7 separate regions of the Homo sapiens genome follow, and regions 2, 3, 4, 5, 6 and 7 are each linked to region 1. Evidence: promoter capture Hi-C in 16 types of primary human blood cells and fetal thymus (Javierre and others, 2016). All regions are on one chromosome and are shown on one strand. Each heading gives the region's core, a stretch centred on a gene start or on the middle of the fragment in contact. The rest is flanking DNA. Distances are from core to core; before and after follow the strand shown.

Region 1 (4,189 bases), core at 406-2,905:
CAACACTAGCAAAAAGGAGGCAGCTGCCTTTGCTACATGACGCATTAGGTGGGCCATTTCACTAATTACCTGATTTTAGAAAACGCCAAAGGCTATGGAAGCCTATTAATGGTTCCGCTGAATCTCTGCAGATGTGTTTGTTTTCTAAATCCTTTGCCAACCAATAATTCCCATGAGGACTCTTTTAGTCTATACTGACAAAATTATTAATATGCTGTTGATGCCAGACTGTGTTTGTTATAGTTGATTCTCCCATCCAAGTACAAGAAATGTATTGAAATAAAAACTGCTCAGCATATCTTAAAAATAGTAGCTACATATAAAATTTTAGCTACATGAAAGACTTTAATATTTCCAACATACACTGTTTTCTCTTTCTCTTCTTGCATTGTTTTTCAAAACGAGTTGCAAAACTATGATCACTAATGTGTTAGGAAAGAAAAAAAACTAGTTGCAAAACATTACAACTTAGCTCACCTTCGCAGTTCAAGATTATTTTCTTTTTTATGTACTACCTGGTTTATCAGCTTTAACCTACAATATCTCGTCATTGCTTTCTGACACTCAAATTCAGTCTAAAATCAAATCAAGAATTTCCTAACACAAAGGTAAGTTTAGGTATAGGACCGATCTTATACCTTCAAGGGCAGTTTAAAGATTCTGCTAAAAATTAGTATGTATCTCCATCAATATTTTGAAATATTTATAACTGGTGGTAAGAATAGCCTTCCTACATGGGATAGTCAGGTTAAGATTAGAAATAACCAAGCGTATCCTCTAAGATAGTTTTTTAAATGTTTAAACTTACCTTTAAGGGAAATAAGTGGGGGCTGACTCACGGAAAGAGGGGATAGAAGGTAGGGAAAGGGCGAAGGCTAGAGTTAAGTGAAGAATCCCGTACGTAGAGTGACATCATAGAGGACTTTTGGCTGGTGAAAAGACCAGTCGGGAATATAGCCAATATATATCAACCTTGCCACTCATATAACTTAAAACCGACTGCATATGTATCCCCGTATTTCTTCTTCAAAACACTACTAACAAATAATAAATCACCGCCCATATAAGCAATCTGCGACTCTAATACGGGTGCTAATTTATTTGTTCAGGTGGTCTACAAACGTTCTGTTCTGCCTGTCTATTAAATTTCCACACGTACTAGGCGCTCACATGGGATAACCTGATGCTTACAAAGCGGATTAAACTCAGTGGCAAATGTTATCTGGGTATTCGTTTACACACGGAGACACCCCTAAAGGATCGCACCTGCTTGGGTCATAAGAAACAGAAAAATGCAAAAACTAAGGTAATTCCAAAAGACAGAAAACGCAGAACGCTTCTTTATCTGCAGAATGTACCGTTCTCGGACGGCTCAACGTACCAGGCTCCCAGCAACTAAGTCAAGATGCCTCCAACTCGAGAGACAGGACCGTCAGCCACTCAGTTAGCAGCTATCTTCTTCTAATTCCTATTGTACTAGATGAGCGCAATGAGGCGGGCTCTTAGCCGACAACCAACCAATTGAGTATTGTATGGAACCGGAAGAGACTCTGGTCCTGGAATTCTTGGGTATTCTCTATGGTTCCAGGGTCAAGCGGCGCTAAGAGAAGGCGGGACAGAGGAATGGGAAATGACGTGAGGAGTGCGGAGGGGCGCGAGGTTTCAAGATGGCGGTAGCTGAGGGGTTGACCGAGAGACCCAGTTGAAGGCCTTTACGAAGTGAAAGAGGCCGGGAGTCGCCCCCTACCCGCTTCTCGTAGTCCTGGGAGCACAGCAGAAGTGTGAGTGTATTGAATTGATTTACTACTCTTCCTCACCTCTTTCGTCCCTTCCACGTCCCGCGCAGCGGCTTGGGGGACACCCAGCCCCTTTGCCCCGCTCCTCCTCTCCCTGGTTGAGGTCTCCCTGTTGCGGACTGGGCTATTCCTGGGCCTGGGGTGGCGCGGCGACCAGTGGTTGCGCGGTTGGCATCGCCCGGGTCGGTTGGGGCCGCTTCTTACGCACGTTGATTAGTAGCCTTAGGTTTGACGTCTTGTACCTCGAGTCATGGTCGGTCAGCCGTCGCTATGGTTTCGTCAGTTGCTGGTGTTGCCTCCTTTGGTGAACCTGGACCCTATCCCATTGAAGCTTCTTTGGCTGTTTAGAGTTATCCAACGCTTATTTGGCTTGATTTTCCAGTCGCCTCCGCTTGTAGACAAAAAACTAATCTGCAGACTTAAGCTCCAGTGTCTTCCGTAAAATTCTCTGTAATTCGTATCCGTTGTGTTTCATTTGTGGGGGAGGAGATTCAGAACATGAGCCTGAGGAAACTTGAGAAAGGAAAGCACAAAAAACGCAGGCAATCAAAGATGGGAGAGCTTGTATATGTACTGATTTTGCTTGTTTTCCTCCTTCCCTACCTCCTACTCCCTGCTGCTCTCCCACCCCCCTAACCCCCCCATCCCCAGTTTTTCTTAGAAGGAAACCACTTGACAGGGTGTATGGTAGCTAGGCCAGGAATATGGATCCATTATAAAGATTTTAGTTAAGTAGTGAGTCAAACATCACAGGATATTTTATTTGTAATCTCATTGTATCATCAGAGCTTTGTTATAAAGTAATTGATGTCCCCATTTTTTAGATGAGGAAGCTAAAAATCAGAGCCTTTGATACCGCTGTCTTGAAGTAATTGCCACCAGAACAGCTGTGAAACATCTGGCTTTCTGAAACATCTGGCTTTCGGGGCAGTTGGACACTTGGTGAAAGAGACATTAACTGTAATAAACTGGGCTGACAAAATCTTCCCTTTCTTACCTTTAAAAAGTGTCTACTTGCAAAAGGAAGCAAATTTGTCCGCCTTTATTACTGGAAAGACTGCGCTTCAAAAAATTAAGCCCCATTATTTTGGAATAAGAGGAAGAAGTCATGTAATAGGGTACTGTGTTAATAAAAGTTTTAGCTTACAAAATATTTTTTCCTCAAACAAAAATAAGTATTCCCTTTAATTACCTTAAGAAATATATATTGGGAGTCAGGTCTTAGTAAGAAAAATATGTGTCTTAATATTTAAGTTTTGGGGAGCTCTCAGTATAGCACTAATTTCAAATATTTGCATTTTTAGTTGTGTTTTGAACTCTTGAGAGTCAAGCATTATATCTGAACTAGAACTGAATCTGAATTAAATATGCTTAAATTAATGAGTTTTTAGTGTCTTAGAAGTATTGAGAATGTACAGCATACATGCCAAGAAAAACCATGGAGAGAGGCAAAGGTGAGGTATGTGTTTTGAGCCTAGATCCATTACCCCCATTCCCTTCTTATTCTTCTTTTACAATTACATGTTAATAAAGGGAGGTTATAGAAGAAGGACTAATGAATTCTGATGTTCATGGTTTGTGCCATATCGTTAAAGCATTTTCTAGTTGTTTTTATCAGTTGACAAAGTCAGTGCTGTGATCCATAAGAAAAAAGCTAAACTGATGACTTGAGGATATTCAAAGTGGTCTTCACACTCATCACATTTCTGAAGAATGATAGAGATCTAAATTTTCATGGTCAAGAAAGGTGATGCCATCTTTCTTGGACATTAAAGTCAAAACTAAGGAAAGAACAGTCTCACAGAATTTCTAATTAAAGGAATTTTTTTTCAGAGATTGGTAGGGACTAGAAAAAGGAAGAAATACATTTAGGAGATATAAGCTATTTCTTTGTCTTCACCTTCACAGGTTTTTCTTTTTTTAATGAACAAGTAAACCATACAAATTGTCAACATGGGACGGAGATCTACATCATCCACCAAGAGTGGAAAATTTATGAACCCCACAGACCAAGCCCGTAAGTGTCCATTAGTGTGGAATGATGAAGTAGGAGAGTGTTAAAAATTGCAAATATTAGGGAATTTCTTTCTCTGTGGCTTAATTACAAGACCAGCAGTGATAGGAGGAATAAATTATATATTCAGGGTTTGTATGGGCACATTAAGACTTTAAATATGCAAAGAAATTAGTACCCGTATTTTATTTTTCAAATTTGATTGACTTGCAAAGTAGAATTGGCTGAAATCTTTCTTTTTATATTGGAAATTTTGAGCAAATTAGTTTTGCGAGCCCTTGTTTCGCGTTTTATGTTATGTTTTTCCTTCAGATTCATAGTTGTTTTTTATGAAACATTAAACAAAAATGTCTTGACATTTTTGGTTGTCATAATTAGA
Region 2 (4,307 bases), core at 968-3,467, 780 kb before region 1:
TAAAGAGTCAAATGGCTCTTAGCTTTGAATCACTGTGAAATGATGGGAAAAGAGAAAGTTCAAGCAAATTTATATGGAAAGTTTGCTAGAAAAATCCCACTCTATAAACCTTGAGTTTAAGGGTTGCTTTTTCTACTAGACAACTCTTCCCTCCCAGGATTTCTCAGATAAAATGATCTGCCATTGGGTGAGCACCTGTAAAGTCATATCCAGAACTGCACTTACTATCTTCCATGAAAGGAATCTGTGAGTTTGACCCCAGAGTTGAAGAGCTTCATTTTCTGTTCTTGAAAAGAACCATTTTGAGAACAGATAATCTTACCTGCTAAAGCACATCTTTTAACCTGTGAATGCCTACAGTGGATTGACAGCAACAATATCTGCCCTAAACAGAAACTTAGTAGCTTATGAAGCATTTTCCTTTCCAGGGAGACACACACTCCACACAAACACACATGAATGCACACATATACTTCCTCATTCTAGTCATTCTAATTCACAAGGGCCAAGGCAGTAGGTCTGGGATTGTAGATTTATTTGCTTAGGTTGGCATGGCTGCCAATGCTTCCCTTCACATCTTCATCCCACTGCCACCTCTCACTTGCCATTGGAGCACGTTTATGTCCCCTGTTCTTTTGAGGTTGCATAAGGATTTTACAGCAATATTGTATCACAGAGATAGATTTTGATGGAGCTCTGTTCATACAGTAGGAAGAACAAATTAAATTTAATGATAACTTTTCCTGTTGGGAATTAGTGTGGACCTTGATTTTTTTATATCCTATATCCTTTTTCATTCTACTGTCTGACAATTTAAGAGACAATCCCGAAGAGGAATCATAGCAAATATGTTTATCTTCCTAAGCTGAATATTTTCATTTTTCTTTTCCTTTTCTAGTTTTTATGCCTATTTATATTATGTCAAGCTGTGATCAGCTTTCTATAATTTGACCTTGTATTTGTCCATGTTGTAACTACCCAGAATCCTTGATGGAGTAGGATAATATCACATATTAAGGGCATGATCTTTGCAGATTGGCATGCCTGGATTTGAATACTAACTCCTCCATGTTCTAGTTGCATGAACTTGTGTGAATCCCTTAACATCTCTACCCTTCTCTATTTTTTTCATTTAAAAATTGGAATAATAACATCTATTTTATAGGGTATAGATACAGGAAAGCCAGAATAAACATTGTATATAGTGAGACATCAATTAATCATAGTTTAAAAAACATCAGAGTTTATTTAATTTTCAACTAAACCTGATAAGGGCTTATGGAATGGTGAGCTGTTCCCCTTACAAAACCAACTCCTAATATTTAATAGAAAATGCAGTTGATGAGGTTACCTGCAGTGAATGATCATGGGACCTTTGCTCTTGGTAGCTTGCTGTCGGACCATGTGTACAAACTGCAGGATACTTTCTGCAGCATTTGCTGTGGGCACACCATGATCAGGCCATGCAGTGTAGTTAAAATGCATCACATCCTGCATCTCGTCAGCCTTTAGAGAAAAAAGCCAAAAACAAGCATTAATTTTTCAGTTCACTGTTAGGATGACCCAGGACTCTGCTAGTTAAGCATGCAAAAAGGTAGAGCCACGTTCCACTCCTGGTCAGTACACTTTCCTTTCCAGCTTTGAGCACCATATCTGGCATAAAATAGGTATTGAAAAAAAAAACCACGCTAATTGTATAAAGCTTCAAATAGTAGGATAAGTAGGCTAATCTGTACCTGTGGACAACACTTAAGCAGATTAGGGTTTGCATCCTGGCTCTGTCATTTAGAAGCTGCATCAGTTTTGGCTAATGAATTAAACACTGTAGAAAGTGCTGTTGGTGCCCTTTAGATACACTTTGCCAGCCTGGGACACACTTTTCCCAGTTGCTGCTAACAGCACAGCAGTACCTATCTCTTGATAGTTGCCTTCCACTGCACAGAGCTGCCTCGATAGAAAATGCCTAAGAGGTTGCGTTCTCCTGCTGAGGGAAGCCCACAGCTAATGACTGACTAATTGTGGGGTACAAAAATCCAGCCTTTTTCAGAGTGAGACAGTACCATGGTGCTGTTCATGCCCCCAGCACTCTCTGTGGGATCCAGCACAGGTGAGATTTTCAGCTGAATGCTCTGTAGGGCTTCTTCTCTGTCAATCTGCTTCCCTTGCTCCCTTATGGGCTTTCCCTAAGAATGCACTTTCACAAAATCACTTATATGAGAATCCTTGTCTTGGGCTTTGATACTAGAGGACTTGACTCACTGAGCTTCAGTTTTCTCATATCTAAAAATGGCCTAATGATACTTATAACAAGAGTTGTTGTGTGAATTAAGTGTAATCATGTGTGTGATATTACTACTTACTAGTACCTCATTACCATCACTCACCGTCATCCAGCTCCGTGCAATTGTATGGTTGATTCTGGGAGTCCCCAGTAAGTGAGTATAACTTGTATATTTTCCTATTCCTATTAACCCATACATCAAATATATTGTTGTTCTCTCTGAACTGAGTACATATTAACTAGAATGTATATCTTTCCAGATCAACTCTTTTTAGTCCCAACTAACTTGTAAGAGTTACATATTCTCCACTTGTTATCAGCCATCAGAAATATCCCAAACCCAGGCTTCATAAAGGTCTGATTCATCCCTCAGTTCTCAAACTTGTGAAGAGCCTAGAATTCACTCAGAGGCTGGAATACTATATCATAACTGGGAAGGAGGGAAGCTTGGCCTCGCTGTCAGTTTTGAGCTAAAATTTAAGTTCAGGTATTGAAAGAGAAATGAATTTCAAAGAGTCAGTGGTCTTGGACAGAAAATAAACGTATAAAGACAATTCATAAATAAAATGTATAAATAAATATGTAAGATTTGTTTAAATATACATAAGTTATCACCTCCCCTACACCCATTGTACCCTTGGCACCTAATATATCCCCAGCAGCATGCAGTGCCTCCCCTACTATGTTCAAGGGCTCTGGCTTAGACACACAGAACATGAAGTCTACAAAGACGCTGGCTACCCTCACTGCTCTCTTCAGGAAGTATGTTGAGAAACTATCTTGGGCATAAAGAATTGTGCAGAATAATTTACTTATTCAACATCATGAGGATTTAAGAATACTCAGCCACCAGATAACTTTGGTTGCCAGGAAAGTTCAGGAAAATGCTTGCCCTGTTTAAATGCTGATCATAATTTGTATAACATGTGTACATTGTAGCCAATATATATATTCCAGTACGGTTGAAGTGAAAATGTATTCAGTTAAAAAGTGCAAGGTGATTTAAAATCAGGAAATCATTAAATTGTAGTTAGTTTCTCCGCAGCTACACGGCAGGGGTCCTGGAACTGGGGTCAGCCCTGTGAGCTGAATAGCAGGGCACAAAGTCCCTGGCAACAAACACGTTTTTGATGATCTTTAGTCTCCAGCTCTCACTCAGTTGATGCCAAATTTCAAGTAGTAGAAAGTGACAAGTTGTGTGTTATGGTCATTTCTCTCCTTTCTTGTTAAAGGAGAAAACTCTTCTGGTTTTATCTTACTTAGCTATTCCTAAATTTCTCTTACCTTGAGTTCCTTATTTATGTAATTTTATCTTTTTATAATTGGAAAGTTTCCACATATCAATATGGAATGGATAAAGAAGGGTATAAACAAAAAATGAAACAAATTGAAAAATATATTAATTAGCATAGCACAATGTTCTTTGGGCAACTTAGCCTTCATTGTAGCTTAACATTTAGATTCATTATGCTTATGGCCAAAAGGGGGCACTCTGGTACCAGACGCTTGTAACAAGTAAATTCCTTACAAACAAACACTACTGTTCAATGTTTTATTCCTATTTTTCAAGTCCTTCACATGATTGTCATTGAAAGATAGGTCATCACTTAAGACCAAGGACAAGAAGCATAGTACTGACCAAGCAATAATCTATGTGACTCTTCTTTGTCAACAGAATAGGCAATGGAACAGACCCTATTTTGTGCTCTGAAATTTTTTCTACTACGTGCAAACCTAGGGACAGATTTGTACTGTATTTGGTTATCAGTTTGCACTGGCTTTTCAATTGAAATATCTAAGAACAAAAAACAGAGTTCAAATGGCATTTGGATTGACAAATATTTTCTCTGACGGAAAGTCTATTGATGCTTTACAAGTGCCTTATTATTTTTGAAATAACTCATTCATTCACTGATTTATTCATTCCACAGGGATACAGCACTTGCTTCTGAAACTCACAGTATACTGGGGAGGCAGACACAAGAAGCGAGAATTGTAACTATCTATGGTGTGCTGTGATAAAGCA
Region 3 (4,314 bases), core at 545-3,044, 760 kb before region 1:
CTCATTTATAAAACACGCTACACTTCATAAATAGTCACATGCATTATCTTGCTTAATTGATCCCTGAGGTAGGAATAGACAACATTAGCTCCATGCTCCAGCTGAGAGAGCCACGGCTAAGAGAGTTAAGTGAGTAGCCCAACATCACATGTCTACTAAGCAGTAGAATTCTCACTGGAATCCAGGGAGAGTAAGTCCTGGTTCAAAGCTTTTCCCACTTCAAACTTGTTATCCTTCCAAAAGAATGGGCTAAAGTTGGGACTCCTCTCCTGGAATGAACCCCCTTAGAACTGCACTCTCTGGCTGGTGTCTTTGGGCAGTGTATCGACCTTAAAGTTGGATTTAACAACTCTAGCTTTCATCTTGTTACTAGGAAAATGGGCACATGTATACAGAAGGCAAACCAGACAAAGTATTAATGGGTTAAAAGAAGTAAAAGCAAGAAGCAGAGGGAAAAGAGAGAGAGAGGAAGGAATAGCAAACAGAAGAATGGACATAAGGGAGAAGGAGAATGACAAGGAGAAGAAAAAGAAAGCTGGAAGGGAGTAGAGACCAAAAGGACAAATATCTACAGAGGAAAAAGAAAAAGAGGAGGTGATGGAAAGGAAGGATGGAATGAAGACAAGTGGAGATAGAAAATGGGAACCAGGGGGATATGGTAGTGGTGGGGCATTTGGAGGGAAAGAGAAATGGTAGAGAAGGCAAATAAAAAGGTGAGAGGAAAGCCTTTCAAGAAATGTCTTCTAGAGAAGGAGAGAGGAGTCAAAGGAAAATGAGAGGGGGGAAGGTGGAAGCCGAATTGATGTGAGTTTTTTTTTGCTTGTGGGTATGTTCTACCACTCCTAATCTCTACCCTATCTTTTGTCTGGGTCTTGCTTCTCCTTCTTTTCTTTGCCTGAGTCATGGGAGGAGCAAGCCTTGACAGTCTCTCCTTTTCGTCCAAGGACGCTATCTTCTAAATGCTCTAGTCTCTGCCTCTTTAGCTCACCTGCCAACCCAACCAACAGTTTTTGGTAACAAAGTCTTTCTGTTTCTGTGAAATCATCCCTCCCAGGTGATGGTACCCTCTCCTCTATTCAGTCTGGTCTTATCTCTCCTACATCAGTTGGTATAAGCCAGTGGAATGTATGCTGGTTTGAAATTGACTTAGAGGCTGGACACGGTGCCTCATGCCTGTAATCCCAGCACTTTGGGAGGCTGAGGAGGGTGGATCACATGAGGTCAGGAGTTCGAGACCAGTCTGACCAATATAGTGAAATTTCGTCTCTACTAAAAATACAAAAATCAGCCAGGCATGGTGGCGTGTGCCTGTAGTATTAGCTACTGGGGAGGCTGAGGCAGGAGAATCACTTGAACCTGGGAGACAGAGGTTGCAGTGAGCCAAGATTGTGCCACTGCACTCCAGCCTGGGTGACAGAGCGAGACTTCATCTCCAAAAAATAAAATAAAATAAATTAAAAAATAAAAATAAAAAATGAAATTGACTTAGAAAAAATTATTCTGTTTTCATATATGCCATAAAATTATATGCCACTCAAGACTAACTAGAAACATTTTTACATCAACTTTTCTTTTGGATTATGTCATGGATTACTCATGATTTCTTTCCATAAGCATAGATGCCACAGACCTGGCTGGACCCCCTAATTTCCTTCTTGTACTAATTCACCAATGTTCTATCCAGGCAGGTATCAAGAACAAACTCTATATAAAGGAAAGTTCCACTTTTCATATGTAGAATTATAACTAAGAAAAGGCATGGAGGTGATAATCTAATAGGCTTTTGAAATCAACTGGGGGTTAATTTTCACTTACCACAATAGTAATTCTTCTCATTTAATGGTTTAATAGATAAGGAAAACCACAGGCTAGATTAATTATCTTTTCTATTTATTATACAGGTTTCTTGAGAAAGCATTATCAAAGTATCTATTATAACATCAAATAGAGTAAAAGCCTTTTCCTGCAATAAACACAGAATTTCAAAATACTAAAAGGATTTTTGAAACCCTTTGATGTAGTTAAATATTAGATTTTCATATACTGTATTTAGAATACCATACTTCCTCCTCCAAGACTTTAAAAATTGCTAACGATCCACTCTCTCAGATTTGATATGATAAACATTGTCCTTATTTCTGATGTGATTTCTGTGATACACTTTTCTAGTGGCCACTGCCACTCAGGCATAAACAACCAGTACATTATTGTGCTTAGCTATTGTAATATGCATTTGCCTCTTTCTTAAGCGTCCCTTCTCTTTGAAGACAAGCAATCTTTAATTGGAACGTTAAGATTATTATAACAAACATCCTTTTAAATGACATAGTAAGAAAAACTTACTTTGTCAGTTTCCTCTTCTTTAAACCATTTTTACTCCTGATAATTAAAAAAGAAAAGACAAATTTATCTGGGCAGAAGAATTGATTAACATAATAATTAAACTTGAACAGCTTTAAATAATTACATCAGGTACCTCAGTTTTATTTAATTTTCATTAAACACATATCAGGTTTGTTTACTTTTCCTTACATGAGAAGATAATAATAATTTCAGATTCATTTTTTAAAACTCTACTAGATTGCATGAACATATCTGCACTTTATACTTCCCATTTGCCAAAAACTGAGTTCTAGAAATGAAATTTCTAACTGCTGTTGATTAAGTTGCTAAAGCAGTTTGTAAATATATAGAAGTATCTATCTACCACCTGAACACTCCAATTTCTACAGGCAGGAAGGAAGAATGGGGGAATAAATGGAGAACTAATAAAGAGACGGTGGAATGTTGTTTTCTTAATTAAAGACTAAAATAACATTTTCTGACATTTTTCTCTGGGGATGTGAATGTGTGCTGTCAGTGTGGACATGTACCTTGTATAATTCTACTATGGCGTTGTTTTTATTCCATCTTGAACTAATTTTTAAGCTATCTGAAGAACTGGACCTATTACCTGCTTGCTCTTCATCATTACTAGTCTATAAGCTCAAACACAGGAAATGCTAATGCATGCTTTAGTTAGTTACATTTGTTTAGGAGATAATTAAGGTAATGATTTTCACCCAACCAAGTAAGATAACTTACCTAAGTTAGCTAAGGCTAACAGTATCTATTGAAGCACTTTGTGATTGTATTCTTATTGTTGTCTATAAATAGTAAATACAGAAACATGATTGACTGTACAAGTGATGTTACAGCAAACTTTTTTGCAAGTAATTTTCAGAGGTCTTTACATAATTTTGATAGAAGCACCCAACTTTTCAGAAAATAAACAGTCTATAGTAAATAACCAGTTGTAATCTTAGTACTTTAATGTGTCCAAATATTTATTTATATTTAAAATTATGAATGTTTGGATATCTCCACTTCCTGAAAGCTTTTAGCAGGACGAAGCAGTACTTTGTGCTTTCACAGCACTTTGCAAACGGAGAGTTTCTCACATTGTGTGATTGTTAGTTGCAGGTACACACCTTGCTACACTCACTATAGCTTCCCCCCAGGGCTGAGCATAGTTAATGAAACACCTAGTGGGTGGTCAATAAATGCTTATTCAGTTGAACTGAAACAAAATAATCTCTGCCATGTTACCCTCTGAATTTCACCTAATGATTCCTTTAACAATTGAATACTAGACTTGGGCTTGTGATGTTCTGATTGAAAAGATGGGACTTGTGGATGAAGAGAAAATAATGCAGGTCAAGAAATGTAGGAACACGTCCACGAAGGCAAGTGGTGTTTGTGGTTTTCAGGTAGTTTTAATTTCTTCCCACTTCTAAGTGAAAACAATCCATTCAATGGTTCTTGTTCTATTTTTTCTCCCTCATCCTCTTTGTCTTCCACACTTGAGATTTAGAGGGAAAAATCAGTCCAGTTTTTACTTTGCCTCTCCCTGATCCCCTCAAAAAACACTATCATGTTGGACATAGCTGTATCTTATAGGCATTTGGGAACCTAAAGGAATATTTATTGATCATGTTTTTTATTCAGCCCCGTGATGGTAATTTAGTTAGTTTTAGGAGTTCCACATTTACTTCCTGTAGTAAGAGCCAATTACTTCAGTGCTTTCGGAAAGCAGAATGTCAGCGGAGATGACTAACAGCTCTGGTAAAGTCAGGAGGCTGCCAACACATTTTGTGATCAGGAGTGAACAAAAAAATACTTTCCTATCCAAACAGGCTTTAAAAGAAACTAGGAAGTAACAAATGTATGTAAGAGGGTAACACTGAATAAATTCAGTGCTGAAATATTAAGCTGCTACTACTCGGCAGCTGCGTAGAAACTTGATTCATGGAGGAGAGACACATTTTTTTTCTT
Region 4 (4,344 bases), core at 1,323-3,822, 550 kb after region 1:
GTAGATATGGAAAAGCTATTTTTGTACACAGGAGGGGAGGGGTTGGCTTTGTCTAGTGAGTCAGTACGCTCAGAAGGATGTGGGTGCCGGTTTGGGCTAAGATAATCTTCAAAATGTATGTTAAAAGGACGTGAATTCATCAGTTGAATTTGTTTTTGTGAGATTTAAGAGTCATCAGTTATTGTGGGAAGGCACACAGTATATGCTACACGGGATTTTCCAAAATGTTCAGTATCAAAGGGGATTCAAGAAGGGTAGAGGTCAAGCCATCCAAACTGGCCCTCTGATTCTTAGAGATGCTTTTATTTTAGGATCTTTGCATTTTTCACTCCACCTTGAAATCTCCACCCTCCCCCCCCACCCCTTATTCCTCTCTCCTTTCACTGTCCTCTGAGTTCCTCCTACCCTCTGGTCAAGCTTTGCCTTCCTCAGAGGCCTTCCTGAATGCTTGGTCCAAAGTAAATTCCTTATACCTTCTTATCATCTTACATGGCAACCTCTTTTTTTCTGTTGTAGCACCACTGTAACTTACAATTATATATATTTGTTTTCTTGTACATTGGCTCTCCCCCTTCACCCGCAACTAGCTTTCTAAGTACCCTTGGGCCGTGTCTGTCTGATCAAAACTGTATAACAAGCATAGGACCTGGCAAAATGTTAGCAAGGAGCAAATATTTGTTGAACAGATTAATTAAATTCAAATATTATTTCTCTGGTCCCAGTCCACTACTTTCTGGCTTCTTCTTTTATACCAGTTAGTTCTTTTACGATTCAGTCTGTTTTCTTACTCTTGTGAACTTTCAGGAACAACTGATTTATTTCAGGGTTCCTCTTTACATAATGAGAGCTACTGAGTAGAATAGAATCTTCACAGCTTCTGGGGGGTACCAGAAAGATGCCCAGAAAGGGGGTACCATGGCCATTACTGGCACCTCAGACAAGGGCAGGCTTCAAACAGGGAGGCCTGTGGCAACCCCTCCCCTATGTCTGAAGCTGAGGGGATGGGGGAGCTAAGAACAAAGGAAAGAAGAGAAAAGTGTCCAGGGAACAGGTGGGGACCATGGTCTTCTTGCCCCATCTTCCTCAGGGGTTGGGGGGTACAGAGTTGGTGGTGGCCCATCCTGCTAGGTCCCACTGCCCCTCAGAAGAGGCCCCAGTCCTTCAGGTTGTTCTTGATGATGACGTCGGTGATGGCATCAAACACGAACTACGTTCTTGGTATCGGTGGCGCATGTGAAGTGTGTGTAGATCTCCTTGGTGTCTTTGTGCTTATTCAGGTCCTCAGACTTACTCTGGTTGTAGCTGGCTGCCTCATCATACTTGTTGGACCCTGTGTACTCAGGGAAGCAGATGGTCAGGGGCTGTGTGTGATCTTCTCCTCCAACAGCTCCTTCTTGTTGAGGAAGTAGATGATGGACGTGTTTGTGAACCACTTGTTGCAGATGCTGTCAAACAGCTTTTATCCCCTAAGAAAAGACACACTAGTCTTATAATTCTTACCGTCTGTGTTTTCTCATCTGTAGTACTTGATTTTACTCTGAGATGGAATTCAACTTGGGTTTTGGTTTCTGAGTCTGGAGTCATGCACATGGTTTTCCCCCTTCCATCTTTATCAAAACTGTCCCTATCACCAGAGGGAAAGGATTTACCAATTCCTCCTTTAAAAGAGTATCCTGGCGGCCAGGCCTGGTGGATCATGCCTGTAATTCCAGCACTTTGGGAGGCCGAGGTGGGTGGATCACCCGAAGGTCAGGAGTTCGAGACCAGCCTGGCCAACATGGAGAAACCCTCATCTCTACTAAAAATACAAAAATTAGCCAGGGGTGGTGACGGGCGCCTGTAATCTCAGCTACTCGGGAGGCTGAGACAGGAGAATTGCTTGAACCCGGGAGGTAGAGGTTGCAGTGAGCTGAGATCATGCCATTGCACTCCAGCCTGGGCAACAAGATTGAAACTTCGTGTCACACACACACACACACACACACACACAACGGGCATGGTGGCTCACGCCTGTAATCCCAGCACTTTGAGAGGCCAAGGTGGGCCGATCATGAGGTCAGGAGATTGAGACCATCCTGGCTAACACAGTGAAACCTCACCTCTACTAAAAATACAAAAACTTAGCTGGGTGTGGTGGCATGCACCTGTAGTCCCAGCTACTAGGAGGCTGACGCAGGAGAATTGCTTGAACCCAAGAGGTGGAGGTTGCGGTGAGCCGAGATCGCGCCACTGCACTCCACACTCCAGCCTGGGTGACAGAGCGAGACTCTGTCCCAAAAAAAAAAAAAAAAAAAAAATGGATCCTAGCTGGGCGAGGTGGCTCACGCCTGTAATCCCAGCACTTTGGGAGGCTGAGGTGGGTGGATCGCTTGAGGTCAGGAGTTTGAGACCAGCCTGGCCAACATGGCAAAACCCCGTCTCTACTAAAAATATAAAAATTAGCTGGGCATGGTGGTGGGTGCCTGTAATCTGAGCTACTAGGGAGGGGATACAGGAGAATCGCTTGAACCCGGCAGGCAGAGGTTGCACTAAGCTGGGATCGTGCCACTGCAGTCCAGCCTGGGTGACAGAGCAAGACTCAGTCTCAAAAAAAAAAAAAAAGATTCTACTCCTGGCCAGGGACTCATCCAAGCAGAAGTCTAATGCCACAGAATTTCAAGTAGGCAATTTGCATCTCTGAAAACCTTCAGATGAGAGAGAGAGAGAGGGGCCACCAATTCACTGGATTTCAGCCCAACACAAGAGTAATGTCTTTGGGGCTTTTTTTTTTTTTGAGACAGGGTCTCACTCTGTCACTGATGCTAGCTAGAGTGCAGTGGCCTGATCCTGGCTCCCTGCAGCCTTGACTTCTGGGCTCAAGTGATCCTCTCACCTCAGCCTCCAGAGTAGCTGGGACTATAGGCATGCACCATCACACTTGGTTATTTTTTTCTATTTTTCTTTTTTTTTTTGAGACAGAGTCTCACTTTGTTGCCCAGGCTGGAGTGCAGTGGTGCAATCTCTGGTCACTGTAACCTCCACCTCCCTGGTTCAAGCGATTCTCCTGCCTCAGACTCCCTAGTAGCTGGGATTACAGGTGCCTACCACCAAGCCTGGCTAATTTTTGTATGTTTAGTAGAGATGGGCTTTCGCCATGTTGACCAGGCTGGTCTTGAACTCCTGACCTCAAATGATCCACCCGCCTGGGCCTCCCAAAGTGCTGGGATTACAGGCATGAGCCACCATGCCTGGCCTATTTATTTTTTTATTTTTTCACAGAGACAGGGTCTCTCTGTGTTGCTCTGGCTGCCCTCAAACTCCTGGCTTCAAGTGACTCCTACCTCTGCCTCCCAGTGAGGTGGGATCACAGGCATGAGCCACTGTGCCCTGCCTGGAGCATTTCTTCACCTAAGCAAATTAGCTGTTCTAAAAGCTGTGCTAGGTGTTGGAGGACATTTGAAGCACAGCTTTATTGTGTATTTATTGCAAGGTTTTGATTGACTCGTTGTGAAACTGGTAGGATTTCCCTAACTGACTACAAAATTCTGTGACTTTCACTTCTTTTTTTTTTTTTTTTTTTTTTTGGGATGGAGTTTCGCTCCTGTTGCCCAGGCTGGAGTGCAATGGCACGATCTCAGCTCACCACAACCTCCGCCTCTGGCGTTCAAGAGATTCTCCTGCCTCAGCCTCCCGAGTAGCTGGGATTACAGGCATGCGTCACCACACCCGGCTAATTTGTGTTTTTAGTAGAGACAGTTTCTCCATGTTGGCCAGGCTAGTCTCGAACTCCTAACCTCAGGTGATCTGCCCACCTCAGCCTCCCAAAGTGCTGGGATTACAGGCGTGAGCCACCACGCCCGGCTGACTTTCACTTCTTTTAACTGGTTCAGGGTAATCAATAGTTGAGAGACCGAATATTGAGGTCAGAAAAACTCAAAGCTCTGAAGCCGTGGTTTCCTCATCTATTTTGTTTTTTCATCTATAAAAATATCTCTATAAAGTTGTAATAATCATTATAAGAGCAATTACATAGCAATACTTTGTGCCAGTTTACTGTTATGATATATATGTATATATAGTATGTATAAACCACATTGTATATATAAACTGTTTTCCTCATAGCCACCCTTTGGAGAAGGTACAATTGTTCCCATTTTATTTTTATTTTTTATAGTTAGGATCTCTGTCTGTTGCTCAGGCTGGAGTATAGTGGTGCAGTCATAGCTCACTGTGGCCTTGAACTCCTGGGCTCAAGTGATCTTCCTGCCTCAGCCTCCAGAGTAGCTCAGACTGCAGGCTTGTACCACTGCTTCTGGCTAATTTTTAGATTTTTAGTAGAGAGGAAGTCTTGCTATGTTGCCTAGG
Region 5 (4,028 bases), core at 794-3,293, 720 kb before region 1:
TGTGCTTCCATCTCCAAAATCCTATGACTACCTGGTTTCTTTAACCTTACAAAGAACAGCGAACACCACTGTTTCCCAGAACAGTATACAACCCACTCACAGAAACTTGTACCAAGTTGAACATACCCTTTTGCTAGTACAAATGTCTATTTTCTACTCATAAAAAATTAGCCATTTTTCTGTTATTATTTCATTGAATTGAGGAGCTCTTGCTGAATCGAATGATGCAAACATTAGTGATTATTTCACACCCATCTCTGTGCACTCTTCTTACCTAGCTTGACAAGGCGGAGCATGGAGGTATTACTTCCTCTTTCAGTACAAGCAGTTACTGAGAGGTTATAGATGTCGCCTGGAGGCAAGCTGAGAATTGCAGTCATGACATTGCGTGTTACCTGCAAGATCATCAAAATCAAGGGTTTAAACTTTTAGTGAATGAATCAGTGCACCACCCCAAACAACTAAAGGACTATAGCAGACACATTCCCTCTCTGTTCTATGCAGCAGTCTGCAATTGATTATATTATAGATACGTTATATCTTCTGAAAATTTTATAAATTCCTCAGCTGGGCCCAATGTGAGGTAGCCTTAATAATGCATTATATACATCAGAAAAATTTTGCAATGAATTCCCTTATTTGGAATGGGTCTCATTCTGACATTTTCTCACATATTGATAACAGGTTTTAGAAAAGACAATTACTGAGTTGCTACTGATATGTACATTCTAAGACGTTCAAAAGAAACCTACCCATATCTGTAGACGTGTGGCTTCCTACCTAACAGCCATTGTTATTTCCCATCCTCTCCTACAGCTAGAGGGGATGATGTGACCCAGCTCTGATCAGTGGATTGTAAGTAGAAGTCACATGGACAAATGACAGTTCAGTTCACATCCTGTAAGTGCTGGGCTTCCACATCATCCCTTTTCTTTTCCCCTTCCTGCAGGCTGGAACATGCATGTAATGGTGATAAAGCTTCCTCTCTAGAGACAAGGACTATGCATAGTGGCAGATGGAACAACAAAACAGAATTTGCCTCCCTGGGTGACCCCTTAAAGCAGAAGTGCCTGGTTAGTCCTGTGCTATCATGGGAGAGGTATAAACTTCTATTTTGTTTGAGCCACTCTCTTTTTGTTTGTTTCTTTATTACAGTAGTTTAGTCTGTCCCCTTATCAATAAACATCCAAAAGCGTATTTTGGAGAAAAGAAATCAGTAGTCCCAAGGTCCCCAAATCTTTAGGTGTCGGTGATATATGGGAAAAAATGGGAAACACGTTAATTGTAGTTTTCTTGAAAATGTTTGGCATCCTGAAGAAAAAGCTCAAATCATAATTCTAAATATAAATGAAATCAATAGTTGGAGCTCTTACATCTCACTGTTAAAGATTAAACGGTAAGCTCTATGAAAGGAAGAATTCAATTTTTGTTCACTGTCTTATCTCCAGAGCCTAAAACAGACAACTGGTATGCAAACATTTGACGTGTCAATAAATGATTGCTTAGTGGTTTTCAATAGTTCATAAAACTAAATTTACAGACACACAATGCTGGCATTCAAAGAAACATACACTCTTTTTAATTTTCTTTTTTCCTTCTGCAACCACCATCCAGTGAAGCATTCTAGAATGGGACAAGTCCGTTGTATCATCCCCATATGTCCAACTGATATATAACAGACTGTTGAAATATTCCACAGAAGTGATTTCCGGAGCCACTGGGGCTACAAGGGAGAAACGAGGCACAATTTAGTATAATAGATGGATAAATAAAGTACTTACCAGCAGAGCATGAAATCCCATATAGAGTCAACTTAGCGAATTAGAATTCACAGCACACGATAGTCCCGGTAACTTCAGGACCTCTCAATAACAGTGAAGGATGGTGATACAGGATGGGCACTTGTTTAATGGGATCCCACATCTTGTATATCTAAGATACAAGACCCCCAGACCCATCTGTACCTGAGGATATCAAAGTCTTTTGGATAAATGTCACCATTACAAAATTCCTAAAAAGTTCACTTGTTTGGGTATATTTTTGTTACATCAACCAATTAATATTAATAGGTATCAGTGGAGTTATTAGCCAAGTAGGATTAAAAAACTTAGAGTCCTGCAAACTAAGTCTCTTTCATTTACTTGCAGCAAAGGTGTTTATGGGAATAAAGAACAGTAGGATACAAGGGTAGGAAGATAGAAGATCATAGTACTACAAGCAGGATAGAAGACAAATGTTATTTGCATAAAATAACAAGACATTATTTTTGACAGTGTCTAGCCCAGTGCTTTGCAGAAAACAGGCTCTTAATAAATGTTGCTGAGTGAGTAGTGAGAGAGAGAAAGAAGGGAAGAACAAGTTTTTTTTTTTTTTTTTTTTAGCCACGAAGCTAAATTCTAACACTGAGCTTGCTACTTTATCATCTTATGCATTTAAATTTTTAAAAATTTAAGCAGGGAATGCCTGTAATCCCTGCATTTCGGGAAGCTGAGGTGGGTGGATCGCTTGAGTCCAGTTCAAGACCAGCCTGTGCAACATAGCAAAACCCCATCTCTACAAAAAAATTAGAAGATTCAGCTGGGCATGGTGGCACACCCTGTTGTCCCACCTACTAGGGAGGCTGAGGTGGGAGGACTATTTGAGCCCAGGAGATCCAGGCTGCAGTGAGGCATGAGCCTGCCACTGCATTCCAGCCTGGGTGACAGAGTGAGACCCTGCCTCAAAAAAAAAAATTACTTTTATTTTATTTTATTTTTACTTTTGAGGCAGGATCTCAATCTGTCACGCAAGCTGGAGTGCAGTGGCGCAATCTCAGCTTACTGCAGCCTCGACCTCCCAGGCTCAATCATCCCTCCTGCCTCAGTCTACCAAGTAGCTAGGACTACAGGTACAGGCCTTCATATCCAGCTAATTTTTATATTTTTTGTAGAGACAGGGTCTTTCTATATTGCCTAGACTTGTCTTGAACTCCTGGGCTCAAGCAATCCACCCATCGTGGCTTCCCAAAGTGCTGGGATTTCAGGCGTGAGCTTCCACGCCCAGCCAAAAAACGTAAATAAATAAAATAAAAAATTTGCCAACGAGGGAAGAGAATTCATCACAAGCTTTATACTATATAGGCTCTGAAAACATTTTAATTACCTTTTTAAAGTAACTGCTAACTCTGATTATTTTAAAAAACAAATACACAATTGAATTTAAATTCCAGGTGTATGTTGGTTTGAAGACAGTCGGTGTTCCATTCTGAGATACAGCACAATGTCAACTAAAATCTATGGAAATTTTCTATAAAGAATCATTTCCCCTAATGTGATGCTAATACTTACAACAAACATTCATAACTAGCTATGCTTTCAAAATTATTCACTGAAGAATTTGTAATATATGAAGTAAAAATGCATTTGTTTCATGTGAAATACGAGTAGCACTTATATAGTATGCTTAGCAATAAAATCTTGAAAGATCATCAATGCATCTAACAAGTAACACAAATCTACATCATATTTCAGAATATTCTACTAAAGGAAAATAACCTTGGCTTCCTTATAGCCTCCTAATATATTCCAACATATTTCGTCATATACAAGAACCTATGCATATATTTCTTCAAAGGGTATTTTCTCATGTCCTAATTTTAGTGAGGAAAAGAAACATCTTTAAAATTGCAAACCCAGAAGTATATATCTTTCCTCTCACATGTCAGATTTTTATTTCCATGTTGTTGCTTTAAAACCTAGCATATTGCTGGAAGGCCACAAGATGTCACTATTTGTTTATTAATACTTTGGCCCCTCCGCATAATTACTATGATTGAGGGCTAGCCAACTGAATTGCCTAACAAAGATGGTAGACTTGAGTTCCTAATAAATCACACCTAATTCAAATATTTTGTTCCTATTTTCTTTTACACCACACAATTTGGAAAATTCAAAGCATAGGAAAGTTAAGCATGAGATTCTTATTTGCTTTAAATAAGAAGGTAAAAAAAATCACACACACACGCGTTTTTACTTTATATATTACAAATT
Region 6 (4,329 bases), core at 175-2,674, 990 kb before region 1:
ATTCTCAGAAATGTATTAAGGTATGCTGGTTAATTTTTACAAATATTTCTTATGGGTTTGTTGAGTATGTGTATTCTCTAATTGCTATATGCCACATATGTATTATATATATGATATATACATATATCGATAGATATAGGTCTCTATATAAGTAATCTATATATATATTGAGAGATAGAGATAGATATAGAGAGATATCAATAACTTAACAGTGGTTGAATGGGTGTTGAAATAGCTACACTATGATAATGAGTTTTTCAATTTCCTCTTGTAGATTTTATCATTATGTGATGACCTTTTCTAGCCACAATAATGCTTTTTTATCTTGAAGCTCATTGCGTGTGATGTCAACATAGCTATACCAGCTTTAATTATTATATAATTGATATATCTTAAGCTTTCCACGTTCTTATGTTTGTAAATAACATATAGCTATATCTTTAAAAACTGCCTTGACTCTGTCTTTTAACTAGAAAGTTTAGTCCATTTATATTGTGATTATTTACATGCTTGAATGTTTTTCTCCTCAGTCTTTACCTTCTATCTATGTGTCTCCTTTCCTTCTACATTTCTTTTTTCTTGCTTTTTTGTGGCTTACAGAGGAAGATTGATTGTTAATATTTGTTTACCTCTTATTCTTTCTCCCTTCCTCTACTGGTTTGGAATTTCTACATCACATTTCCGTTCTTTTAGAGTCTTTAAGATATTGTAGAGCATAATGGTCAAAACCACGTTCTCTGCTTGAATTCAAATCCTAGCTTCATCACATACTAACTCTATGATTTATTATCTTTGTGTGTGTGTGTGTTTACCTGTAAAATTGAGGTTGTGAAGTACCATATGGATCATTTCTGTTAAAATCTTATTGTGAATATTTTTCTTAAGGACACTTAAAATTAATATATTAAACTCCTCAGAACAATACAAAAACCTTAGAATGATTTAACTCTAATTATCCTCCTTCTGATTTGTAAGTTATTCTCTAGCATTTAAACTGTGTCTTTTAAGCCTCACAATTTCATATTATTTATTAATATTATTTTGTACAGACCAGGCCTCTTTATATTAACCCAAATGTTAATCAGCTTCTTTGTTCACCATTTTTTCTTGTATTCCAGTATTTCCTACTGGGTCACTTTCCTTCATCTGAAAGTGTACTTCAGAAGTTCATCTAGTGAAGGCAGTGAAAAGAATAGTTTTTAATCTAAAAATGTCTTAATTACATTTTTGTTCTCAAAATATAATGTTTCTGGACACTAAATTATAGGTTGACAGCTATTTTCATTCAACATTTTGAAGATATTCCACTCTCTTCTGGCTGCCATATTGCTGTTGAAAATTATTCAGTCTACTTGTTTTTCTTTTGTAAATAATATTCCCCCCTTCGATGCTTTTAAGATTGCCTTTCCCCTGGTGTTTTGAAATTTCACTGTAGTTTATATTGGTTTGCTTTTTTTCATGCATCTTATGTGATACATGTATATGTACTGCCTCTATTTCATTTTCTTTTCAGGTATCCTACTTGATACATGTATATAGCCAGGACTTCCTCTTTTTGTAGATTCATGTCCTATGTTAATCTGGGAACAGTGTTAGCTATTGTGTCTTCTCTTGTCTTTACTCCATTCTTTGTGGTCTCTCATTCTGGGATTCTAATTAGAGATGAGTAATATCTTAACATTCTCTATATTCCATATCTCTTAATGTTTATTATTTTCTGTCTTTTTTCACCTTCTGTGGTGCATTCTGCATAATTTCTTCATATGTAGCTTACATTATTCTTTTCAACTATGTTTAATCTACTCTTTAACTCATTTATGGGGTTTTATATTTTAGCAGTTATATTTTTCTTTTCCAAAAGTTCTAGTGGGTTCTTTTCACGTATGCCTAGTCATCTTAGATATTTATTTATGATTTTAATTTTTATTTCTTTATACAGCCAGATAATAGCTAATTAGTTTTTTTGCCTCATAAATCGAATTATATTTGTTTATTCTGCTAACACTCATGTCAGCAGAATTTTCTTATATGGCTTGAGATCTTTGATTATGAATTCCTATTTGGTTGATGTTTATTTGTGGGAAATTCTGGGACACTAACTTGAGGTTATTTTTCTCCAAAGAGGATTTCTGTCTATCTCTCTTGGGAACTTGTGGGCCCAAGGACCTGAAACCGTACTGACTTCCTTCCAGCAGAGTCAGCTAACATGGGATTTAAAAGATTAGCTTCTTCACCTTGTAGCCGGTTTAAGTCTTATTTAAAAGATTACTGCCTACCCCACCTGCTTCAGCAATTTTGTTTTGTTTTGTTTTCATTTTGGACCCTGAGAGATTCCCTTTACTGTCTCAGAGTCCTACAATGCATATCAAAGTATATTTTATGCGGGATCCAGGTGATGTGTAGCTGGAGAACTTTTCAAATAATCTAATTTACCTTTCTGTGTGAAGCTTAAAAAAAATACATGCCAACTCTCTACATGCATATAAGTATAGTGTATAAGATGGGGAGTTCTTTGCCTGAAGGAGCTCCCAATGTCCTCTACATTTTGTTTGGTTTCCTCTTTTTTCTTAGAGTTTCATTACCTTTTCCATGTGTTTCATTTGGTCTCTTTCCCCTTTTTCCTTCTTTCAAAGGTCTCTCTTGATTTACCCTCTTACCTCAGCTACACTATTGGATTCAACTACATTATTATTTCAAATTATAATTATTAGTTGAGTCCAAAAGTATTTGTTGAATGAATGACCATTTCACACTCATTAAATTCTTCAAAAGACTCAAGTTCTTTTCAGATGCTTTTTACTCAAGTAACACTGGTTGGATTTTCTTCCCTTTGTGGAAAACTAATTCTTGATTATTAAAAAAGATGGAAAAGCAAAAGATTTCATCCATGGGTAAGCAAAGTTGTATATTCATTTATTTATTTTTAACTAATATAGTTTATTTTTGGTGAAAATAGAGGTTATATTTGGAAAAAATTTCCATGTTAAGAATACTTCCTATCATGCTTCAAAATTTCCATACATTTCTAATTACATATTACAAAAGAAATTAGGGCATTTTGACATTTGAAGGCTAAAGCAAATTGAGTTTGTTAATCCAAATGGGTGTAAAGAAACATAACTAACAAGAAATATAAACATCAGTTACAAAGTAAGAAGCAAGCCCAAGCACCTCCTAAAGTGAGAACAAATATAATAATCCAAGCAATTTGGTTTGTTCTTTCAACAGTGTGAAATAATAACAAGGGTGATAGCCAACCTGAAATTACTTGTCTACCAAGTTACACTTAGAAGATTTAGATCATCATAATAATAATATTCTAAGCTACAGTGTACCTTTTCTAGATTTACTCATGGATATGTTTTATGTTATATGGCTTTAAGGCTGTGAGTCTACAGAGGTATACACAGCAGTCCCTAAATTATATTCATACATCAGATTGGGGAGTGGGAGTGAACAGGGATGTTTGAAGAATTCTGACTCTTGGGTAATGTGGAGATAGCTCTTACTCCCCAGATAGAATTCAGTCATTATAATTTCTCCACATTTTCTGTATGTAGCATTTATACCCAGCTGTAGACTCTGCTCCTATATTTTGGGACAGAGTATTGCTCTGTCACCCAGGCTGGAGTGCAGTCAACTGATCTTGGCTCACTGCAACCTCTGCCTCCTGTGTTCAAGTGATTCTCATGCCTCAGCCTCCCAAGTAGCTGGGACTACAGGCGTGTGCCGCCAAGCCTGCTAATATTTGTATTTTCAGTAGAGATGGGGTTTCGCCATGTTGCCCAGGCTAATCTCCAACTCCTGTCCTCTGGTGATCGTTTGGCCTCGGCCTCCTAAAGTGCTGGGATTACAGATGTGAGCCAATGAGCCTGGCCTGCACCATATTTTGAATGCCCCATTCACTCCAGGTATCTATCTCCATTCTACATCATTCCTACATCATTTTCATCCCAAATGCCAACATATACTAATGAGATTTTCAAAAAGGAAAAACTTGTGTATAGTGATACTCTAAATAGGTAAGTTTGACATAGATTCTTAACAAAAGTATAAACCAGATTATTAACAATGGTTTTAGTGGGATCACTAATACCAGAATGGGTTAATCTGAAAACAGATCTTATTTAACTAGCTTCCTTTTTTTTTTTGAAAGAGTTTCTTGGACCAGTAGATTTGGGGATGCTAGAAACAGTAAATCTTTATTTCAGCAAAGCATCTAGAAAACCTTCATGAACTCCATGTTGGTTATGGTATGGGTGCATGGACTAAAGTGCTTGAAAAGTGTTGGTTCATAAATGACTGTTACCTTGGAGATCTATTTTGGCA
Region 7 (3,996 bases), core at 878-3,377, 740 kb before region 1:
ATTTGTAATTCTAGAGCTTTAGCAATAACCTTCTCTCAGTCTTCATTTTGCAATAAGACTGTCCCCCTTACAAACTAGATATGCACGTTTCTTTTAAATTCTCTTGGTCGAATGGACCTGTCTTGTGGTACTTATATTTTACTTTACTTTTTTCTATACTTATGCAATGTCTACACCATATAAAAATGTTTTGAAGGCAAATATTGATTCTATCATGTGTGTTCTATTCAGTGCCTTTATATACTTGGCAAATGGTTCATATTTGTTAAATTATATTTTATATTGTAGGGTCTTTCTTCCCTTGATCAATTCAATGGCCTACTACCTTTATTCCTTTGTCTGACCTGGAGTGACTTATGAATTAGGAACAAGTGATACAGACAAAGATAAAAGTTCTCATAACAACTTTTGGGCTTGGTCTAAGCCTGCTGTTAATTTCTATCAGTGAAACACAAAAGAGCAAATAAACAGTTTTCATTTTATATAGCTCAAAGAAATAGAAGATTCTTATTTTGCCCAGATAATTAGCCTTACTTAAGTTAACTGAGAAAAGGTAGATCAAAAGGTACAGTACCTGAAGTTTGGTTTTCTGACTGGAGCCAACTTGTTGACAGAAAACTTCAAAGAAATCAGCTACTCCCTCTTCCACCCACAGCAAAGTCACTGAAGTCTGGGTTTTGTTCACTGCGAAGAGTGATTTGGGTGGAGCTGGTTCTGAGCAAAGACAAAGTTTTAAAAAAAATTTAATTTACTAAGTGTATTCTTTCTTCTTTCACTAATAAGCAGGTGAAGCATCCCCCAATTCAAATATAGGTAGGTAAGAGCACCATAAAGACTTTATATTGCCTTTGAAATATGTCCTTTCATAAAGATAGCTATCTAACTTGGAAGGCAGAATACTTTGCCTTTTCCCCCTTCCATTTTTTTACTTCTCTTTTCAGAACACTTCTGTTTTCTACTTCAGTTTCATCATAGTCATAATCTATTAATAGTTTCTGTGTCATTTATACTGAAGTTAGCATTGCCCTGATAATACAGAACTTCCTGGATGAGAAACAAAAATCTGCACTTAATAAAGGTGGAGAAAAATGAAATTTGGTGTGCTTCCTTCTAATGATGAGATGCAGTTTGGTATTTAGCCAACAACCTGTCTTCCTTTCTCTGGAAACTATCTGGAACAATTCAGACAGAAAAATGGCTGCTTGAAAATTTAGTCAAAATTTAAAAAGATAAAGCTAAACAGATAGTATCATTTTTTTTTTTTTTTGAGGCGGGGGTCTCACTCTGTCACCCAGGCTGGAGTGCAGTAGTGCGAACACAGCTCACTGAAGCCTCATCTTCCCTGGCTCAAGTGATCCTCCTGCCTCGACTCCCAAGTAACTGGGACTACCTGGCTTATTTTTGCATTTTTTGCAGAGATGGAGTTTTGCCATGTTGCTCAAGTTGGTCTCAAACTCCTGGGCTCCAGCAATCCACCCACTTTGGCCTCCCAAAGTATTGGGATTACAGGTGTGAGCCACCGTGCCTGGCTGATAATATAATTTTTTAAGAAAAGAATTGATAGGAGGGGATTGGAAGATTAATAAAACATTAGATAAATTTTTTATCTTAGACATTTTATCTTAATAATAAATAAATCCATTCGTAAAGGAAGCTGTGTTGTCTGTCCTTTTCATACTTATTTCTAGTAATTGAGTCACTGGCATTGCTCTCTTGAGACCAAAAAACCCTGCCTGTTCCTCAATTCTAATAGTCATCTGCTGTCTCATTCTCCATTCCTGAATGTCTCCTGGTCTTCTGCTTGTGACCCTGTCTTTTGGATGTTGTCTTTCCCTCTAGGTCCCCCAGTATGCAGAGTGCTGTGCCTGAACTCAAGGTTTTAAGCTGGGGTCCCTGTTACCTGCTCTCAGACCCCCTGACATTGCTTATTTGGACATATTGTACCTTGCTGCTAGGTTCACATAACAGCATCCTCCATCCACCTATATGCGCCTGTCAGACGACTACCCACTGTTGTAGGTTTCTTCCTGCTTGTTACTTGGATTTTTCATTTTCTGCCCCACTCTCCTAAGTCTGTTCTCCAGCTCCTGTCCTTTAGAGGTGCTTGAAAAAGTCCTGTCAGCCATTTCACTGCTTTGACAGGTACACATCTTTGTGTGGAAAGATTTGAACCTTGTTTCTAGAATATCATCATTGTGACTCTGCCCAGGACCAAGAAGTATGTCAAAATCATTCTTGCCATGATTTATCACAGATCTCCTAAACTTGTGTCCAACTAAAAAGAAGCATGTTTCTTTCCTGCAGCAACTTGACAAGGTTAGGCAGAAGAGTTGAAGGAGGAAAGAGATGAGTTCTTCTTAGGCAAGCAAAATTCACAATAGGTGTCAGGAGCCCTTTTTCACTTGCAATGAATTGTCCAGTCCTCCAGGCATTGTATTGTCCCACTTCTGCTCTGAGGAAGACTGCTAATGAAACACAGAGGTCAATTTCCACTTCTCACTTCCTTTATAACTGCCTTTGCTAATAGGATTATGTCCTTTAGGGATTCTGACTCATGTGGAACTTGAATCTATAGAACCAAGTGTGAAGTTGTTTGGGGGCATAGATGAATGATTAGTTAGGCTGAGCCTAGGCTTTTCTTTTTTAAAAATGCACACTACAGAATTGTTCCTCAGTCACAATTCTGAGGCTCTTCCCTTATTTCTCAGTCCCAGAGAGCATATCTTTTAAAAACTCGTTACCTTTTCCTTTAATCTTTTTTTTTTTTTTTTTTTTTGAGATGGAGTCTCGCTCTGTCACCAGGCTGGAGTGCAGTGGTGGTGCAATCTCGGCTCACTGCAACCTCTGCCTCCCGGGTTCAAAAAATTCTCCTGCCTCAGCCTCCTGAGTAGCTGAGACTACAGGCGCATGCCACCATGCCCAGCTAATTTTTTTGTATTTTTAGTAGAGACAGGGTTTCACCATGTTGGCCAGGATGGTCTCGATCTCCTGACCTTGTGATCTGCCTGCCTCTGCCTCCCAAAGTGCTGGGAGCTGGGATTATAGGCATGAGCCACCACCCCCGGCCTCCTTTAATCTATTTTTAAATTATATTGCATGTCTAGACTTTTGTGATCACATTCATTGATCATCACAAACTTGCTGTGCCTCTTTTTCCCTGGCTCTAATCAATTCTTTCTTCATTTTGTCAACAACGGATTAAAATCACCTTAAAATGCCATTTCACTCATGTTAAATCCTATCTGTGCATTGTCTGTGGTATCACATCCAAACATACCATGTCTTTAAGATCCTGCTTAAACTGGCTGCATGCTATCCAACCAGCTTCACCACCATTCCTGACACACAGATGTGTTGCCTCCTGGGAAAGACAGTCTTCTCACTGAACTTCAGGGCAGTGCTCTATGTCAGCCCATGTTTGCCTTCAATCAGTATGCTCTTTATTCTGCTCATTCGAAGGTCAAGAAAAAGTCTTACCTCCTCCTTGAAGTCTCATTTGGTGACTCTTTCTCTTAATGATTTATCCCTTCTCTGACATTCTACTGCCTTTAATTATTTCCTATATAATCTATGTGAGTGAAGGCCTGATTCTAGTAGATCCTATTAGATTCTTTAAGAACAAGGGTCATGTGTTATAAATGACTTTGTCTTCATTTGAAGTAGCCACCTATAGGTACTCAAAAAATCTTATTTATCGGCTGATTTAAAACATGAGTCAAGATTCATCAACCAAAAGAGGAGGATTCAAGCACCAGGCAAGACCAGACACGCTGAGGTTGTATCTTAATGTTCTCTTCTGTTTTTATGTAGGTAAAATTATCCAATTTCAGGGGCAAAGTCAAGAACTATCATGAATTACTGCAAGAGCTCCCAGTGGTCCAAGGAATACGACATGAATACTGCAGTGAGGGTTTCCTTTGTTCTGGCTGAGAATGTGGCTCTAGGTGATAAGATCCTCAGGAAAATCTCCTAAAGGTCTGGGACATCTAACAACCA

Evidence for each region. The method cuts DNA at HindIII sites, captures the fragments that hold promoters and counts their contacts. A CHiCAGO score of 5 or more calls a contact.
Region 2: a fragment that was not itself captured here is called in contact with the fragment with the promoter of WBP11 in region 1 in 6 of 17 cell types (non-activated CD4 T cells, naive CD4 T cells, activated CD4 T cells and 3 more); the score reaches 9.4 in non-activated CD4 T cells.
Region 3: a fragment that was not itself captured here is called in contact with the fragment with the promoter of WBP11 in region 1 in 7 of 17 cell types (naive CD4 T cells, activated CD4 T cells, total CD4 T cells and 4 more); the score reaches 14.0 in naive CD4 T cells.
Region 4: a fragment that was not itself captured here is called in contact with the fragment with the promoter of WBP11 in region 1 in 11 of 17 cell types (activated CD4 T cells, fetal thymus, total CD4 T cells and 8 more); the score reaches 12.1 in activated CD4 T cells.
Region 5: a contact is called between a fragment that was not itself captured here and the fragment with the promoter of WBP11 in region 1, in 5 of 17 cell types (M2 macrophages, M0 macrophages, M1 macrophages and 2 more). The highest score is 10.3, in M2 macrophages.
Region 6: a fragment that was not itself captured here is called in contact with the fragment with the promoter of WBP11 in region 1 in 4 of 17 cell types (activated CD4 T cells, naive CD4 T cells, non-activated CD4 T cells and 1 more); the score reaches 6.6 in activated CD4 T cells.
Region 7: a fragment that was not itself captured here is called in contact with the fragment with the promoter of WBP11 in region 1 in 2 of 17 cell types (naive CD4 T cells and non-activated CD4 T cells); the score reaches 6.5 in naive CD4 T cells.

The regions. Positions count from the first base shown.
Region 1 is chr12:14,800,944-14,805,132 of GRCh38, reverse strand. WBP11 (WW domain binding protein 11) reads left to right here and starts at 1,655. Exons shown (of 12, transcript NM_016312.3): 1 at 1,655-1,781; 2 at 3,705-3,813. The coding sequence starts at 3,750. It overlaps C12orf60 (chromosome 12 open reading frame 60), which reads right to left and starts at 1,463. Exons shown (of 2, transcript NM_175874.4): 1 at 1,382-1,463. SMCO3 (single-pass membrane protein with coiled-coil domains 3) reads left to right here. Exons shown (of 2, transcript NM_001013698.2): 2 at 1-483. RefSeq lists an enhancer at 1,120-1,359. The HindIII fragment of the contact is 2,157 bases long and covers 1-2,129 here.
Region 2 is chr12:15,584,096-15,588,402 of GRCh38, reverse strand. It overlaps PTPRO (protein tyrosine phosphatase receptor type O), which reads right to left. Exons shown (of 27, transcript NM_030667.3): 24 at 1,352-1,506. Among named protein-coding and RNA genes, the nearest start is that of EPS8, 200 kb to the left of the region's middle. The HindIII fragment of the contact is 1,025 bases long and covers 1,705-2,729 here.
Region 3 is chr12:15,563,658-15,567,971 of GRCh38, reverse strand. It overlaps PTPRO (protein tyrosine phosphatase receptor type O), which reads right to left. Exons shown (of 27, transcript NM_030667.3): 18 at 2,344-2,379. Among named protein-coding and RNA genes, the nearest start is that of EPS8, 220 kb to the left of the region's middle. The HindIII fragment of the contact is 3,168 bases long and covers 211-3,378 here.
Region 4 is chr12:14,252,029-14,256,372 of GRCh38, reverse strand. It overlaps the pseudogene GNAI2P1. Among named protein-coding and RNA genes, the nearest start is that of ATF7IP, 110 kb to the left of the region's middle. The HindIII fragment of the contact is 4,306 bases long and covers 420-4,344 here.
Region 5 is chr12:15,522,509-15,526,536 of GRCh38, reverse strand. PTPRO (protein tyrosine phosphatase receptor type O) reads right to left here. Exons shown (of 27, transcript NM_030667.3): 11 at 1,572-1,723; 12 at 275-395. Among named protein-coding and RNA genes, the nearest start is that of PTPRO, 200 kb to the right of the region's middle. RefSeq lists enhancers at 182-251, 1-979. The HindIII fragment of the contact is 2,126 bases long and covers 981-3,106 here.
Region 6 is chr12:15,792,265-15,796,593 of GRCh38, reverse strand. No RefSeq gene overlaps it. Among named protein-coding and RNA genes, the nearest start is that of EPS8, 5.0 kb to the right of the region's middle. The HindIII fragment of the contact is 2,050 bases long and covers 400-2,449 here.
Region 7 is chr12:15,543,287-15,547,282 of GRCh38, reverse strand. It overlaps PTPRO (protein tyrosine phosphatase receptor type O), which reads right to left. Exons shown (of 27, transcript NM_030667.3): 13 at 575-714. LOC105369672 (a long non-coding RNA gene) reads left to right here. Exons shown (of 3, transcript XR_002957403.2): 2 at 3,811-3,975. Among named protein-coding and RNA genes, the nearest start is that of PTPRO, 220 kb to the right of the region's middle. The HindIII fragment of the contact is 8,324 bases long and covers 1-3,996 here.